Regions from separate parts of the Homo sapiens genome. Here all the other regions are linked to region 3. Evidence: promoter capture Hi-C in 16 types of primary human blood cells and fetal thymus (Javierre and others, 2016). All regions are on one chromosome and are shown on one strand. Each heading gives the region's core, a stretch centred on a gene start or on the middle of the fragment in contact. The rest is flanking DNA. Distances are from core to core; before and after follow the strand shown. Region 1 overlaps STAU2 (staufen double-stranded RNA binding protein 2). Region 2 overlaps STAU2 (staufen double-stranded RNA binding protein 2). Region 3 holds the start of GDAP1 (ganglioside induced differentiation associated protein 1). Region 4 overlaps STAU2 (staufen double-stranded RNA binding protein 2). Region 5 overlaps UBE2W (ubiquitin conjugating enzyme E2 W).

The links. Contacts are between HindIII fragments. The CHiCAGO score rates a contact against its expected background, and 5 or more counts as called.
Region 1: a fragment that was not itself captured here is called in contact with the fragment with the promoter of GDAP1 in region 3 in 11 of 17 cell types (naive B cells, activated CD4 T cells, total B cells and 8 more); the score reaches 13.3 in naive B cells.
Region 2: a contact is called between a fragment that was not itself captured here and the fragment with the promoter of GDAP1 in region 3, in 1 of 17 cell types (fetal thymus). The highest score is 5.5, in fetal thymus.
Region 4: a fragment that was not itself captured here is called in contact with the fragment with the promoter of GDAP1 in region 3 in 1 of 17 cell types (fetal thymus); the score reaches 5.6 in fetal thymus.
Region 5: a contact is called between a fragment that was not itself captured here and the fragment with the promoter of GDAP1 in region 3, in 1 of 17 cell types (total B cells). The highest score is 6.4, in total B cells.

The regions. Positions count from the first base shown.
Region 1 is chr8:73,678,757-73,682,047 of GRCh38, reverse strand. All of the region lies in intron 5 of STAU2 (staufen double-stranded RNA binding protein 2), which reads left to right. Among named protein-coding and RNA genes, the nearest start is that of STAU2, 66 kb to the left of the region's middle. RefSeq lists a silencer at 57-257. The HindIII fragment of the contact is 2,551 bases long and covers 682-3,232 here.
Region 2 is chr8:73,661,978-73,665,155 of GRCh38, reverse strand. All of the region lies in intron 6 of STAU2 (staufen double-stranded RNA binding protein 2), which reads left to right. Among named protein-coding and RNA genes, the nearest start is that of STAU2, 83 kb to the left of the region's middle. The HindIII fragment of the contact is 9,464 bases long and covers 1-3,178 here.
Region 3 is chr8:74,348,698-74,352,043 of GRCh38, reverse strand. It overlaps GDAP1 (ganglioside induced differentiation associated protein 1), which reads right to left and starts at 1,641. Exons shown (of 6, transcript NM_018972.4): 1 at 1,466-1,641; 2 at 578-770. The coding sequence starts at 1,582. RefSeq lists an enhancer at 1,399-1,628. The HindIII fragment of the contact is 8,708 bases long and covers 811-3,346 here.
Region 4 is chr8:73,716,672-73,719,651 of GRCh38, reverse strand. The region is part of intron 3 of STAU2 (staufen double-stranded RNA binding protein 2); the gene reads left to right. Among named protein-coding and RNA genes, the nearest start is that of STAU2, 29 kb to the left of the region's middle. The HindIII fragment of the contact is 155 bases long and covers 1,381-1,535 here.
Region 5 is chr8:73,832,970-73,836,437 of GRCh38, reverse strand. All of the region lies in intron 1 of UBE2W (ubiquitin conjugating enzyme E2 W), which reads left to right. It also overlaps the pseudogene RN7SL760P. Among named protein-coding and RNA genes, the nearest start is that of UBE2W, 44 kb to the left of the region's middle. The HindIII fragment of the contact is 1,733 bases long and covers 505-2,237 here.

The DNA.
Region 1 (3,291 bases), core at 708-3,207, 670 kb after region 3:
TGGAATATTGAAGTCCCTCACTATTATTATTTTGCCCTCTGTCTCATTTATTAAGGTCTAGTAGTAATTGTTTTATAAATTGGGAACTCCAGTGTTAGGTGCATTTATATTTAGGATTGTGATATTTTCCTGTTGGACTAGTCCGTTTATCATTATGTAATGTCCCTCTTTGTCATTTTTAACTGTTGTTGCTTTAAAGTCTGTTTTATCTGATGTAAGAATAGCTACTCCTGCTGGCTTTTGGTGTCTGTTTGCATGAAATATCTCTTTCTACCCCTTTACCTTCAGTTTATGTGAGTCCTTATGTGTTAGGTGAGTCCCTTGAAAACAGCAGATACTTGGTTGGTGAATTCTTATCCATTCTGCCATTCTGTATCTTTTAAGTGGAGCATTTAGGCCATTTACATTCAACATTAGTATTAAGATGTGAGGTACTATTCTATCCATTGTGCTAGTTGTTGCCCCAATACCTTTTGTCTGTTTTTTCTCATTGTGTTATTGTTTTATAGGCCCTGTGAGATTTATGCTTTAAGGAGGTTCTGTTTTGGTGTATTCTGAGGCTTTGTTTCAAGATTTAATAATTCATTTTATTACTTCTTTAGTGCTGACTTGATAGTGGCAAATTCTCTCAGCATTTGTTTGCCTGAAAAAGACTTTTATCTTTCCGTCATTAATGAAGCTTAGTTTCACTGGACATAAAATTCTTGACTGATAATTATTTTATTTAAGGAGGCTAAAGATAGGACCTCAATTCCATCTGGCTTGTAGATTTTATGCTGAGAAATCTGCTATTTATCGGATAGGTTTTTCTTTATAGGTTACCTGGTGCTTTTGCCTCACAGATCTTAAGATTATTTCCTTTGACTTGACTTTAGATAACCTGATTGACTGTGTGCCTAGGTGATGATCTTTTTGCAATGAATTCCCTGGGTGTTCCTTGACCTTCTTGTATTTGGATGTCTAGATCTCCAGCAAGGCCAGGAAGTTTTCCTTGATTATTCCCTCTAAGTTTTCCAAACTTTTAGATTTTTCTTCTTCCTCAGGAACACCACTTATTCTTAGGTTTGGTCATTTAACATAATCCCAAACTTCTTGGAGGCTTTGTTCATTTTTTAAAATTCTTTTTCCTTTGTCTGTGTCAGATTGGGTTAATTTGATTAGGCCTTGTCTTTGAGCTCTGAAGTTCTTTCTTCTGCTTGTTTGATTCTATTGTTGAAACTTTGCAGTATATTTTGCATGCCTCTAAGTGTGTCTTTCATTTTCAGAAGTTGTGACTCTTTTTTATTTATGATTCTATTTCTCTGGAAATTTTTTCATCCATGTCTTGTATTATTTTAAAAATTTCTTTAAGTTGCCTTTCACCTTTCTCTAGTGCCTCCTTGAGCTGCTTAATAACCGACCTACTGAATTCTTTTTCTGGTAATTCAGATATTTCTTCCTGGTTTGGATCCATCGCTGGTGAACTAGTGTGATCTTTTGAGGGTGTTATAGAACCTTGTTTTGTCATATTACCAGAATTGTTTTTCTGGTTTCTTCTCATTTGGATATACTGTGTCAGAGGCAAGATCTTGAATCTGCTGTTCAGATTCTTTTATCCCACGGGATGATCCCTTGATGTGGTTCTCTCCCCGTTTCCCTATGAATGGGGCTTCCTGAGAGCTGAACTGCAGCGATGGTTATTTTTCTTCTGGGTCTAGCTACCCAGTGGAGCTACTGGACTCCAGGCTGGTATTGGGGAGTGTCTGCAGAAAAAGCATTTGCCCTAGGCTAGAAGTCTTCCTGCTAAGAAAGCAAGCAGGGCTTTCAGGCCTTGCCCTTCCATGCCTGCAGTGGCTTCTGTTCTCATATCTGTACTTTCCATTGGCCCCCTATTCCCGCCGGCCCCCTATTCCCACCTCCTCCCCCACCCCCCACCCAGATTCTGCCCAGGAAAATTTGCATTCAGTCAAAATTATGACAGCGTTCAGCTAGAAGTCTTTCTCACTGTGGTACTTCCCTAGTTCCACTGACTGCCTTCCCCAAGGACCACTGTGAGATGAAAGTAAAAAAAAAAAAAAAAAAAAAAAAAATGGCTTCCCTAGGGACTGGGAGTGTCTACAGGGGTCTCTTATCGCTGCTGCTTCTAGTTTTTGTTTTTGTTTTTGTTTTGTTTTTTTTTTTAGGTGGAGTCTCAGTCTGTCACCCAGGTTGGAGTGCAGTGGCGTTGATCTTGGCTTACTGCAGCCTCCGCCTCCTGGGCTCAAGCAATTCTCCTGCCTCAGCCTCCCAAGTAGCTGGGATTACAGGTGTGCACCACCTTGCCCAGCTAATTTTTTTTTTTTTTGTATTTTTAGTAGAAACAGGGTTTCACCATATTAGCCAGGCTTGTCTCAAACTGGGCTCAAGCGATCCACTCACCTTGGCCTCCCAAAGTGTTGGGATTACAGGCATGACCCACCATTCCTGGCCTGCTTCTTCTACTTTTATATTTCGCTCAGCTCTCTAAATTTGTTTCAGTCCTAGGTAAGGTTAAATTCTTCTGTGATCTGGATTTTCAGGTTCCCCAGTGAGGATGTGTGTTTGGAGGCAGACTTTCCCCCTCTCACACTTTGGGCACTCACGGTGTTTTGGCTGTCTCATGGAGTTTGCAGCGGCAAGCTGCTTCTTTCAAAGGGTCTGTGAATTCTTTCAGTTTTCCTGGTATGTTCTTGTGGTGGTTCTTGGAGCAGAGTTTACACTGTGAGTCTCCACATGCTGTTTTGTCCTGAGTGGGAGCCTCAAGTTAGTCCTGCCTGATATCCATCATTTTCTCCGGGTGACCTCAGTGAATCTATATGTCCCGTTATCTATTGGGAAAGGCAAACCTGTATTTTGGACATAGTGTATTAATTGATAACATTAGGTTAATGGAATTACTATAACTTTAGTACCAGCCATATATCCATTTACTCATTCATTTGTTAACTGATTAATTCAAGTGGTTACCTTCTAGTCAATATTAATTTCGCCTTAGATATTTTTGTTATGGAGGTTAAGAAAGATTTTGTGCCTGTCAACAATAACTCTAAAATGTATTTAATCATTCTCTACTTGGTTATATTCATAATCAAATCACATAGACACTTGTTTCATTCTCATGTGGTCTGTGCTAGGTTGACATTCTCTGCTCTTTCAAGGACTACTCTGCAGAATCCATGGCTTTCTGATTGCAAGTCTCTGCTTCTGTTCAACTGATTGCAGTATTTATTAAGCTTAAATAAGCCAAAATATTATTACAATAGAAAAAAAACTTATTCTCTTCATTTTGAAGTT
Region 2 (3,178 bases), core at 42-2,541, 690 kb after region 3:
ATTAACCTAAACCCATAACAAAGACGCATTAGAAATGTCTTTTTAAAACTCTCATAAACCAGAGAAGAAAATTTGAACAAGTTACCAAAGCAAGGATGAGGAAGAGTGAACTTAAGATCAGTATCCCCCATGGTCACAGATATAAAAATTATTATTATTATTTTTTGAGACAGTCTTGCTCTGTTGCCCAGGCTGGAGTATAGTGGCCTGATCTTGGCTCACTGCAACTTTTGCTTCCCAGGTTCGAGCGATTCTCATGCCTCAATTTCCCGAGTACCTGGGACTACAGGCGCATGCCACCACACCTGGCTAATTTTTTGCATTTTTGGTAGAGACAGGGTTTCAACATGTTGCCCAGGCTGGTCTTGATCTGCAGACCTCAAGTGATCTGCCCACCTCGTCCTCCCAAAGTGCTGGGATTACAGGCATGAGCCACCATGCCCAGCCAGATAAAAATTCTTAACAAAATATCAGCAAATTAAATTCAGCCGAATTTAAATAACATTATGATTAAATGAAGTTTATTCTAGGAAAGCAAGATGAATTTAGTATTCAGTAATCAAAGTAATTAACCCAATTAATAGAATAAAGGAGAACAACCATATCAGTATCTCATTAGGTGCAGAAAAAACATTTGACAGAAGTCAGCGCTCACTAATGATATAGACTCAGCAAACTAGGAATGGAAGAGAACTTTCTTAATCTGATAAAGGGCTTCTTCAAACAACCTCCAGATAACATTATGCTTTATAGTGAAAGACTGAATACTTGTAAGATCAGGAACAAGGCAGTAATACACACTGTTATCACTTCTGTTCAACATTATACTTAAGGACTGGTACGGTGGCTCATGCCTGTAATCCCAGCACTTTGGGAGGTCGAGGTGGGCAGATTGCTTGAGCTTAGGAGTTTGAGGCCAGCCTGGGAAACATGACCAAACCCCATCTCTGTTGGCGTGTGCCTCTAGTCCCAGCTACTTGGGAGACTGAGGTGGGAGGATTGCCTGGGCCTGGGAAGTCAAGGCTTCAGTGAGCTGTGATCGCCACTGCATTCCAGCCTAGGCAACGCAGTGAGACCCCACCTCAAAAAAACAACAAAGAACCCCACATTATACTTGAGTTCTATCAAGTGCAACAATAAGAAGAAACAAATGGGGGAATATTGGAATAGGAGATATAAAACTATCTTCATAGACACCATGATTCTGTATGTAGAAAATAATAAATCAAAAGTACTGAAAAGCTACTGAATAAGTGAATTTAGTAAGGCCACAAGTTGCAAGGTTAGTATACAAAAATCAGTGGTATTTCTAGTAAATAGTAATGAGCAGTTGGGGAATTAAATAGCGTGAAAACATATTCAGAGATAAATTTAATAAAATAGGTACACAACCTGTATAATGAAGGCTATAAAATACTGCTCAAATTAAAGAAGACTCTATTATTTAAGATTTCAGTTCTCTCAAAGTTGATGTGAAGATGCAATGCAGTTGTAACAAAAATCATAGTAGAGTTTTTTTTTTTTTGGTAAAATTAATAAAGTAGTGCTGACATTTGGAGATGCAAAAAAACAATTTGGCTACTGCAAATTGTTTTTGCAGTAGCCAAAGCAATTTTGAAAAGAACAAAATTGGCTGGCCCACACTACCTGACTTCAAGATTTGCTATAAAGCTACAATAATCAAGACAGCAGAAAATTAACATAGGGACAGATATATGGATCAGTGGAACAGAATAAAACAGCAGTTGGCAAACTATAGCCCATGGGTCACGTCTGGCTTGCCTGTTTTTGTATGGCTTGCAAGCTAAGTAATGTTTTTTACATTTGCAAGTGGTTGGAAAAACATCAAAAATAAAATGATATTTTACAACACATGACATTTAGATGAAATTGAAATTCTAGTGTGTGTCAGTAAAGTGTCATTGGAACACAGCCACAGTCACTTGCTTATGTGTTGTATATACTTGCTTATTTATAGTCTGCTTTTGTGTTACAACAGCAGAGTCGAATAGATGTAATAGATCATATGGCCTGCAAAGCCCAAAATATTTTATATTGGGCCCTTTACAGAAGTTTGCTGATCTCTGGAATATGGAGGCAAGAAATAGATCAATCCATATATGAACAATTTAATTCTTTCAAAATTAATTCCAGTGAAGGTGCTAATGGGGAAAGGATACTCTTTCCAACAAATAATAGTAAAATAATTGGCCTTTCTGACAGAAAAAAAAAAGAACCTGGGCTGGGCGCGGTGGCTCATGCCTGTAATCCCAGCACTTTGGGAGGCTGAGGCAGGTGGATTACCTGAGGTCAGGAGTTCGAGACCAGCCTGACCAACATGGAGAAAACCTGTCTCTACTAAAAATACAAAATTAGCCTGGCATGGTGGCGCATGCCTGTAACCCCAGCTACTCAGGAGGCTGAGGCAGGAGAATTGCTTGAACCCGGGAGGCAGAGGTTGTGGTGAGCTGAGATTGTGCCATTGCACTCCAGCCTGGCAACAGGAGTGAAACTCTGTCTCAAAAACAACAACAACAACAACAACAACAACAACAAAAACCCCTGAACCTTGACTTCACACCACAGACAAAAATAAATCAGAAATGGGTCATAGACATATATGTAAAAGTTAAAGTAAAATTTCCAGAAGAAAATACTTTGCTACTTTGGAAATAGACAAAGATTTCTTAGAACACAAAAAGCACGGATCATGCAACAATTGAGAAATTACATGTCATCAAAATTTAAACATGGATCATGAAAAAATTGAGAAATTATAAGTCATCAAAATTTAAACTTCTGGTACTAGAAAGACACTTTTTACAAAATGAAAAAGCAAGACATATATTAGAAGGAAACATTCGTAATACATATATTTGAAAGAGGACTTCAGAATATATAAAGGAATACCTACAACTCATTAATAAGGCAAAAATGGACAATATTTTTGAATAGACAATAGAGATAAGAATGGCTAATAAACACATGAAAAGATGCTCAAAGTGATTAGTCATCAGGGAAATGCAAATTAAAACCATAGCTAAAGTTTAAAAAGACTGACAACACCTAGTGTCATGGTGGGGCAACTGGAAGTCTCATATATTGCTGCTGGGGATATAAAATGGTACAGGCACCTTGTCAGAGTTTATGATGTTCTTATGAAGTTAAGCATGTAGTA
Region 3 (3,346 bases), core at 392-2,891:
ATTATTGAAGAAATTATAAAATGTCTGACACATAACAAGCTGTTAATAAATGATTTACCTAAATGCACTATACAAATTTAAGCCCTATAATTCCTTAGTAAAGATATAAAATTCAAACAATTCAGAAGTGACTGGGGCAAAGAACTCAGGTATACTAACATTCTATTCTCCTTTAAGATTTATTGCTCTTTTTTCCCTCTTGTTTTTAAGGTGAAACCATTTGGTATATTAGATGAAATCGTCACAGTGCACATTTAGAATATTATGAATTTAAGACTAAGAAATCACCAACACAAACCACACATTTGCAGTTTTTTGCAAGTGAATTTTTTTAAGTTTCAACATTAACATTTGTATTTTGCATTAAATTATTTTAAATAGCATTACACTAGCCTATACAAAATTTGTTATTGACCTATTTGATATTTGTGTGCTTATGGAAATGGAAAAGGTTTTTAATCCCAAACCACCATCATGACACAAGAGAAAGAGAGAGAGGAGAGAGAGAAAAAGAGAAAGGGAACACATAGTTGTGTTGAAAGTAAATCCAAGAAATCGCAAGTAGCCTTAACATTACCATCCAGGAAAGTCTGTTCAAGATAATCAATGATCTGAGTGGCCTCACAAATTATGTTTTCCCCGTGGATAAGGACAGGCACTTCTCCAGTTGAGTTCAAACGCATAAACCAAGGCTCATTGTGCTCACTCAAGGGCAGACTTACATCATGTTCCTCGCACTTCAATGCCTTTTCAGCAATTACCAAGCGCACCTGGAAGAGTTCACACTGGTTACTACAACACATGTAAGCTTTCAATTAAATGACTTCCCTGGACACCGCTAAGCAGCCTTTCTGGGCTTCCCTGTGTTACCGACATTTTCAACAGTCGTTTTAACAATTCCTATTCCTGGAATTAACAAGTAAGGAAAGAACAATACTCAACAAATTAAGAGAAGAACACAAAATAAGTAATGAAATGATTCTGACTGTATTCATTAAACAGTCACCCTCCTCATCACTACCACTTTCTCGGTGTCCTAAACCTGATTATGGGTCCTCCCCAGACAAGAACCTGACATGTAGGTACATCAGCTCTTGCTGAAGACAGTGAATGCGAGAGAGCAAAAGAAGAGATCGCAGATTATGAGGGTCCACAAAGGCACCTCCCTCTGCCTCTCTCCGAAGACCAGCAGGCAAGGCCTCCAGACCAAATACTGAAAATGATGCTTTTTTGTCGCATTTCGCGAGAGGCGGAGCCTGGGCCATAGCCACATAGGATCATCTCCGATCGATTCTCCCCGCTCCCCACCCGGGCGCGTCCCCGCCTGGAGGGAGCGCCTGCCCGGGGTCAGGACACTGGAGGCGGATTTCTAGGTGGACCGGCTTCCCTGGGCGGGACTCAGAAGGAGCTGTCCCAGTGCTGAAGCCCGATCCGCGCCACCCTCCGCCGCCAAGGCCTGTTGTACCTTTTGAGAGCTGAAGGAATGCGTCCAATGGTACAGAATGAGCTTAACCTCCGCGTCGGCCTTGCCTTCCGCCCTCAAGGGCGGGCTCCCTCTCTGCTCTTCCTGCCTCTCAGCCATCTTGGGGTGCGCGAGCACGGGTGCGCCCAGCCTGTCCGCCCTGGACTTCTCCCTCCCACACTGCCCCGCAAGGCGTTTCCGGGTTTTGAGGGGTACCTGCCGGAAGGAGGGCGCGCGGCCCGCTGGGAAATGTAGTTTCGCCGGCGGCAGAGTCTGCGAACACGCGGGGTCTGCGACTGGAAAGCCCCTGGCAAGCCTGGGAGTGCACCTGGGAGGTGCAATTGAACGGTTGTTTTTTGGGTTTGTTTTTTTTTTTAGAAGAAAAAATAAAAAATATGAGACCCTGGTTATGAAGGGCAGTAAGGAAGAATGATGATAGCAAATTACTCTTCGGTTTGGAGGTTGCTCAGGTATAAAAGCAGCAATTTCCCAAGATACTGAGGGTTGCTCTTGGAGCCTGTTCCTTTGTTGGAAAGGAAGTTCCGGTCGACAAGCAAAGCAACAGGAAAAGGATCTATGAGCTTTCATTAGAAGATGCTACTATGACATTAGTGGACTAATTCCACAAATTTGACTAACTGCTGTAGATTAGAGAATAGTCTTGTATAAACAGTAAGTACTTGATTTTGATAATTAAACTGTGCTTTGTAAAAGAAAAAAAAATACCACTATGGAGTCATGCAAAAAAACTGTTTTTGTCATAAACAGCTAATAAACAATGGCGATATAAAATAGCCTAGTTGTTAAACACAAAAATTCTACAACAGTACTGCCTAAGTTCATATCCTGGTTTTTCCATTTTCTAAGTAAGAATAATAATTTTATTGTTTCCCTCATAAGATTTTTGTGAAAAATTAATAATAAAATGTTAAACACTCAGAACACCCTGTCACGTTGTAGGCACTCAGTCTTAGTCACAGGTTCAGTTGTCTTATAAACATTCTGTTATAACCATAGTCAGAATCATAATTTTATATTAGTCTAGTTATTATTGTATGTCTTTAAAAATTTGGCATCATATAGTAAGTTGATTTTAAAAATCTCTTTCAGTAATATGTATAAATATGACCATAGAATAAATGCCTGTATAATTTATCTGGCAAATATTTATTGAGCACCTACACTGTTCCAGACATTGTGCTGGCTCCTGGTAATATAAAGATGTGTGAAATCTAATATCTAACACTCAAGATATAATCTGGCAGTAGAGACGACCAAGGAAATAGACAATCACAATAAAGATGAGAACTGTCTTAGGGTGAACACAGAGTACTATGAGAAAGGAGGGGCAGGCAGCCAACCCAGGTCAGAGAAGGGCCCCTGGAAAAGACAAAATCTCATGAGGTTCTTCCTTGCCTTTACAGTACTTCATTTGTTACTCTCTGTAATTCTTTCATAATTTTTTAAGATTTCATAATGTCTTTTATATCCTTCAGTTAATTCAAGTGCTATAGAAAAGGTGAATTCCTTGCCAAAATTGTTTTTATCAGTTCACACTTAAGAGTAAGAGCGGAAAGAGGAAAACTTTGAAATCGGACAGAGTGGGGTTTAAATTCTAGCTCTACCCTAACTTGAGCTTTCTTGAGCTTTGACTTCATTGTGTGTAAAAAATGGATACATAAAAATTATATGCCTACCCAGATGGCTGTGGGAATTCAAGAAAGGATATATATAAAGCACCTAGGGTATTGCCTGGAATGTAGCCATTGATAAAAACATATGTGTAAAAGCCCCTTCACTGACATTAGGAGGGCATTATATTACATTTCATCCTCTCTCTGTAGGTCTCAAAATTTTTACAACTACCCATATAATCCTCCTCTC
Region 4 (2,980 bases), core at 209-2,708, 630 kb after region 3:
ATGTGGGGTTGGTTTAGTGTTCCAAAAAATCAGTAGTGTAATTTAACATATTAATGAACTAAAAAGCAAAAATCACATGATCATCTCAATAGATGCAGAAAAATCATTTGATAAAATCTAATATTCAGTATCATAAAGACTCTCAGCAAACTAGAAGTGGAAGTGAACTTTCCCAGCCTGCTAATGTGCTTCTATGAAAAACCTTATTAGCTGACCTTGTACTTATTGGTGAAAAACTGGACACCTTTTTTTTTGAGACAGTCTCGCTCTGTTGCCCAGGCTGAAGTGGCACGATCTCGGCTCACTGAAAGCTCCCCCTTGTGAGTTCGTGCCATTCTCCTGCCTCAGCCTCTGTAGTAGCTGGGACTACAGACACCCGCCACTATGTCTGGCTAATTTTTTTGTATTTTTTAGTAGAGACGGGGTTTCACCAGGTTGGCCAAGATGGTCTCGATCTCCTGACCTTGTGATCCACCTGCCTCGGCCTCCCAAAGTGCTGGGATTACAGGCGTGAGCCACCACACCTGGCCAAAACTGGACACTTATTTTAAAAAAAGAAGACGGGATGTCCACTTTAACCAGTTCCGTTTGACGTTGCCGTGGAGGTTCTAGCCCATGCCATCATGCAAGAGAAGGAAATGCATGGTGTTCAGATTGGAAAGAAATGAATAAAACTGTCCTTATTCACAGATGACCTGATTGTCTATGTAGAAAATCTGATGGAATCCTACTAGAACTAATAAATTACTATAGCAGAGTTGCAGGATAGAAGAGCAGTATGCAAAAACCAATTGTGTTTCTATACATTAGCAGAGAACAATCATAAATGAAAATAAAAGAGTAGCATTTTCAAAAGCATCAAAAATATGAACTACTTAGAGATAAGTCTAACAAAATATGTTAAAGAAAATGAGAACTACAAAATACTGCTGCAAGAAATTAAAGGATACCTGAATAAGATACAGTTGATTCTCATTATTCATGGATTCTTTACCTAGGAATTGGCTTACTCACTAATTTTTATTTGTAACCCCAAAACCAATACTTGCAGTGCTTTTGTGGTCATTCTCAGACACTTGCAGGGGCAAAACATTTTGAATCACCCAGTGCACATGTATATACCCAGCTGGGATCAAACAAGACAATGCTCTGCTTTCTTATTTTGGGTTTCATACTGTAAGCAAGTAGCCCTTTCTTGGTTTATTTAGTGCTGCATTTTTTGCATGTTTGTGCTTTTTGTTGGTTATTTTGATGTTTACAAAGATGGTTATTTTGATGTTTAAAATGTTTAAAGTGTAATGTTTAAGTGCCATATAGTGTTTCTAAGTACCAGGAGGCTCTGATATGCCTTACGGAGAATATATGTGCATTAGATAAGCTTTATTCAGGCAGGAGTTAAACAGTACTATTGGACATGAGTTCAATGTTAATGAATCAGTAACATATATTAGTAATACATACTAAACAAGAAGTCTCTAAACAGAAACACATAAAACATGACATATGATCAGTTCACAAAAATGTCAGCAGAAGCTTGCAAGAACCTAATACGTTAGTTCCCCTGGGAGCAATGGCTCTATAATTGCTGATTCACATAACAGTCATTGACATATTATTATCTCAATAATGAGAAGTGACTGTGTATCCTTTTCATGGGTTGGAATACTCAACTTTGTTAAAATGTTGATTTTCACCAAATTATAGATTTAAGAGACTTATATTTCAATCTTTGCAGGCTTTTTTATAGAACTGCACAGGGTGATTCTAAAATTCATGTGGAAATTTAAAGAACTTTAAACAACTGTGAAAAAGAACAGTGTGGGAGCCAACACTACCTGATTTCAAGAATTAAAAGCTGTAAAATAGTTTGGCGTAAAAATAGGTAAATAGGCGGCAGAATCGCTTGAACCCAGGAGGTGGAGGTTGCAGTGAGCTGAGATCGCGCCACTGCACTCCAGCCTGGGCGACAGAGCGAGACTCCGTCTCAAAACAACAACAACAACAACAACAACAACAACAACAACAACAAAAGACAAATAGATCAGTGGAAACAGAATTGGTAGTCCAGAAATAAACTCCTTATATGTAGATAACTAATAATTTTGACAAAGACATAAAGGCAATGTAGTGGGAGAAATGTAGCCTTTTCCACAGTTGGAAACAATTGGATATTGATATACAAAAAATGGATTCATACCTTGCGCTGTATAGGAAAACTAACTCAAAATGGCTTCTGGACTTAAATGTAAAACCTAAAACTATAATGTTCGTGGAAGAAAACAGGAGAAAAAAATTTTTAGACCTCAGTTAGGTAATAATTTTTTAGATATACATTAAAAGTACAAACTATAAAAATTGATAAATTAGACTATTAAAATCTGCTCTTTAAAAGACACTGGTAAGAGAATAAAGAGAAAAGCCACAGTTTGGGAAAAAAATTTTTATTTTTTTCGTAGTGATTCCTCTTTATTATTTTCTAAGATGACTGTCCATTTGCTCCAACTTTGTTAGCAATTCATCTTTTTCCTACTACTTTATTTATTTTTTTTGGAGACAGAGTCTTGCTCTGTTCCCCAGGCTGGAGTGCAGTGGTACCTTCTTGGCTCACTGCAGCCCCTCACCTCTTGGGCTCAAGTGATTCTTGTGCCTCAGCCTCCTGAGTAGGTGGGATCACAGGCGCACACTACCGTGCCCAGCTACTTTTTGTATTTTTAATAGAGGCGGGGTACCATGTTGCCCAGACTGGTTTTGAACTCCTGACCTAAAACGATCCACCTGCCTTGGCCTCCCAAAGTACTGGGATTACAGGCGTGAGCCACCGCGCCTGGCCTAGAAGAAAATCTTTACCAAGCATATGTCTAATCAGTAACTTGTATGTAGGATGTGTAAAGAACTCTTCAAATTCAGCAATAAGAAAAAAAAATCAAAAGTAAAATATTCAGACACTTCACCACAGGAGATACAGATGACATATAAGCAA
Region 5 (3,468 bases), core at 122-2,621, 520 kb after region 3:
GAACAGATACTACACATTGCTTGACCTTTCACTGTTTGTATCTTTTTAAAAAATGTTTTATTTGTGAATGTAGTATGTACTCATTTAACCCCCCAAATGCTGGCCCTTCTCTCTCACTATTTCAGGGGATGTGAATATGCAAGGCAGTTTATTGCCTAGTAGCTAAGAAGGCTGGGGGCTGGCATGAATTGTCTTTTTTTAATGTAATAATTCCACCCCCTCAGTAAAAAAGCATGGTCCAGTGAATGTCTTAGATTGTGACTTAGTGATATTGATGAGGAAGTAGATGACAGTCCCTTCTGGGATGGAGGGGAGGATGGAGCAGTGGTCCTGTATTATCTATCAGTGCGTAACAAACCCTTAAACTTAGCGATTTAAAACAACAAATGTTATTTCACAGTTCCGAGGGTCAGGAATCAGAGGCATAGTTGTTTGATTCTGGCTTAGGGTCCCTCTTGAGTTTGCAGGTAAGGTACTGGCTAAGATAGTAGTCATCTGAAAGCTTGATTTGAATTGAAGGATTTGCCTACAAATCATCACATGGTTATTGGTAGGAGGTTTCAGTTCCTCACTATGAAGGCCTCTGAATTAGGCTGTTCTCAACATGATAGCTTGATTCCTCCAGAGCAAGTGATTTGAGAGAGAGAATTACCAAGACAGAAACCATAGTGTTTTGTTTTGTTTTGTTGTTTTTTGAGGCAAAGTCTCGCTCTCTCGCCCAGGCTGGAGTGCAGCAGCTTGATCTCACTCACTGCAACCTCTGCCTCCCGGGTACAAGCAATTCTCCTGTCTCAGCCTCCCGAGTAGCCGAGATTACAGACGCATGCCACCACGCCCAGCTGATTTTTTGTATTTTTAGTAGAGACAGGTTTTCACCATATTAGTCAGGCTGGTCCCGAATTCCTGACCTCAGGTGATTCACCCACCTCGGCCTCCCAAAGTACTGGGATTACAGGCATGAGCCATCGCACCCGGCCACAGAAACCATAGTTTTTAAAATAATCTAATCTTGGGAGTGACACACCATTTCTGCTGTATTCCATTGGTCACACAGATCAGCTCTGAGGGAGGGAACTACACAAGGGTGTGAATACTAGGACCTTTAGAGTTTGTTGGGAATTATCTTGAAAGTTGGCTATCATAGGTCCCTTCCTTTGTGGAGATGAAAGAAGTCTAAGGGTAAGGAGAAACTTTTTTTTTTTTTTCTATAGAACCCTTTTCCATTATGTTCAGGAGACCAGGGATGATATACCAATAAAGCGCTTTTTTAGTTTAGTTTGCTTTTGTTGTCTTGTGTTTCGCTTGGTAGTTATGCAGATTGATTCTCCTTTATATTCTTGCTTCTCCTACTAAGAAGGATTATCCTTCTTGACTTAGTAAAGTTCTCAAGATCTGGAAGATTTCTGCAGCAGTGTTTCCCAAAATATGGTCCTTGAAACAAGGCTTGAGACGCTCTACAAAGGGTTCTATTATCTTTGGAAACCTCTTTTTTGTTGTTGTTGGGAGTTTTTTGTTTATTTTATTTTATTGAGATGGAGTCTCACTCTATAGCCCAGGCTGCAGTGCATTCGCGTGATCTAGGCTCACTGCAACCTCCGCCTCCCGAGTTCAAGCTATTCTTGTGCCTCAGCCTCCCGAGTAGCTGGGATTACAGGCGCATGCCACCACTCCTAGCTAATTTTTGTATTTGTAGTAGAGACGAGGTTTCGCCATGTTGCCCAGGCTAGTCTTGAACTCCTGACCTCAGGCATTACATGCTCCTTGACCTCCCAAAGTGCTGGAATTACAGGCTTGAGCCACTGTGCCTGGCCTTGTTTAATGTTATTAGAGACAAGTTCTTGCTGTGTTGCCCAGGCTGGACTCCAACTTCTAGACTCAAACAATTCTCCTGCCTCAGCCCCCTGAGTAGCTGGGACTACAGGCATGCATCACTGTGCTCAGCTATTTTTGGAAACCTCTTTATGTCATCTTGCCTTTGGACAATGACTGTACAAGTTAGTATATGGAAAGTTCTGTTGAAGAAGCCAGTTCTTTGTTTGACCCAGTTTTTAAAAAAATGTACGTGATCACAGAACCCTCATTTGTGAATATCAGTAGAAAATAATTAAAACCTTGTTCAAACAGAAATTTGCATAAATTTGTCTTTATTCAAAACAAATTATTTAAGCAAATTTAAAGTCCATTACAGTGATTCACAACACAGTTTTCTATCTGTAGTGGTGTTGGATGGCTAAGCTTATTTTAAGTGACATAAATTGAAAAGACGTAGAAACATTACTTACTGATAGTAATATTTCATTGTCCAGAAAAAACAGAAACCAATTTTTAAGCAGAGTACTCTTAAGAAATGAACAGATATCCATACTTGTCTTCTTCACTTTAAGAAAAGACTTACGCTGGGTGTAGTGTAGGTGCCTGTTGTCCCAGCTATTTGGAAAGCTGCGGCAGGAGTTCTGGGCTGTCATGCACTATGTCGATTGGGTGTCCACATTGAGTTCGGCATCAATATGGTGACCTCTCGGGAGCGAGGGACCACCAGGTTGTCTCAGGAGGAGGGGTGAACGATCCAGGTCAGAAACAGAGCAGGTCAAAACTCCCATGCCAATCAGTAGTGGGATTGCACCTGTGTACTCCAGCTTGGGCAACATAGCGAGACCCTGTCTCTGAAAAAAAAGTCATATTAAGACCCTTTATAATCTTGCATGCAATTTTAATAACATTAGTTATTTGGTTTTAAAATTCATAAATTAGGGACTACTGTGTTTTGTTTTGTTTTGTTTTGTTTTTGCCTGGTTGTACACTGAAAAAGTATGTCCACTGATGATAACAAGGGAAGAGGTGTACAATAAAAGCTGTACAAATAAGCGTGCAAAATACGTAGCCATTTTAGGATACCTAATATGTAGGAAGAAAACCTTAACATATCTCAGATCATAATATGTTGTATTCTGATGTTCTACTATAAACGATGTTCATTAACAATAACCTTGAAATATTAAACTGTGCAGGTGATCATTATATATTAAAATTACTTTAAAATTTTTTAAAAATTATACATATAAAATCATTTAAAATTTTATTAATATTTTCTTTTCTTTTTTCTTATTTCATTCTCGTCACAAGGCATAAAATTTTTGAAAGGCTTTTTGCATAAAGGGTTACTTTTAGAGTTTCTCTGGAAAGCTTGTCTGTGAAATGACATTCTTTAAGGATTATGGAGAACTATGGCTTTTTTTTTTTTTTTTTTTTTTTTGAGGTGGAGTCTCACTCTGTCGCCCAGGCTGTAGTGCAGTGGCGCAGTCTCAGCTCACTGCAACCTCTGCCTCCCGGGTTCAAGCGATTCTTCTGCCTCTGCCTGTTGAGTAGCTGGGACTACAGGCACGCGCCACCACGCCTGGCTAATTTTTTTAGTATTTTTAGTAGGGTTTCACCATATCGGCCAGGCTGGTCTCGAACTCTTGACATTGC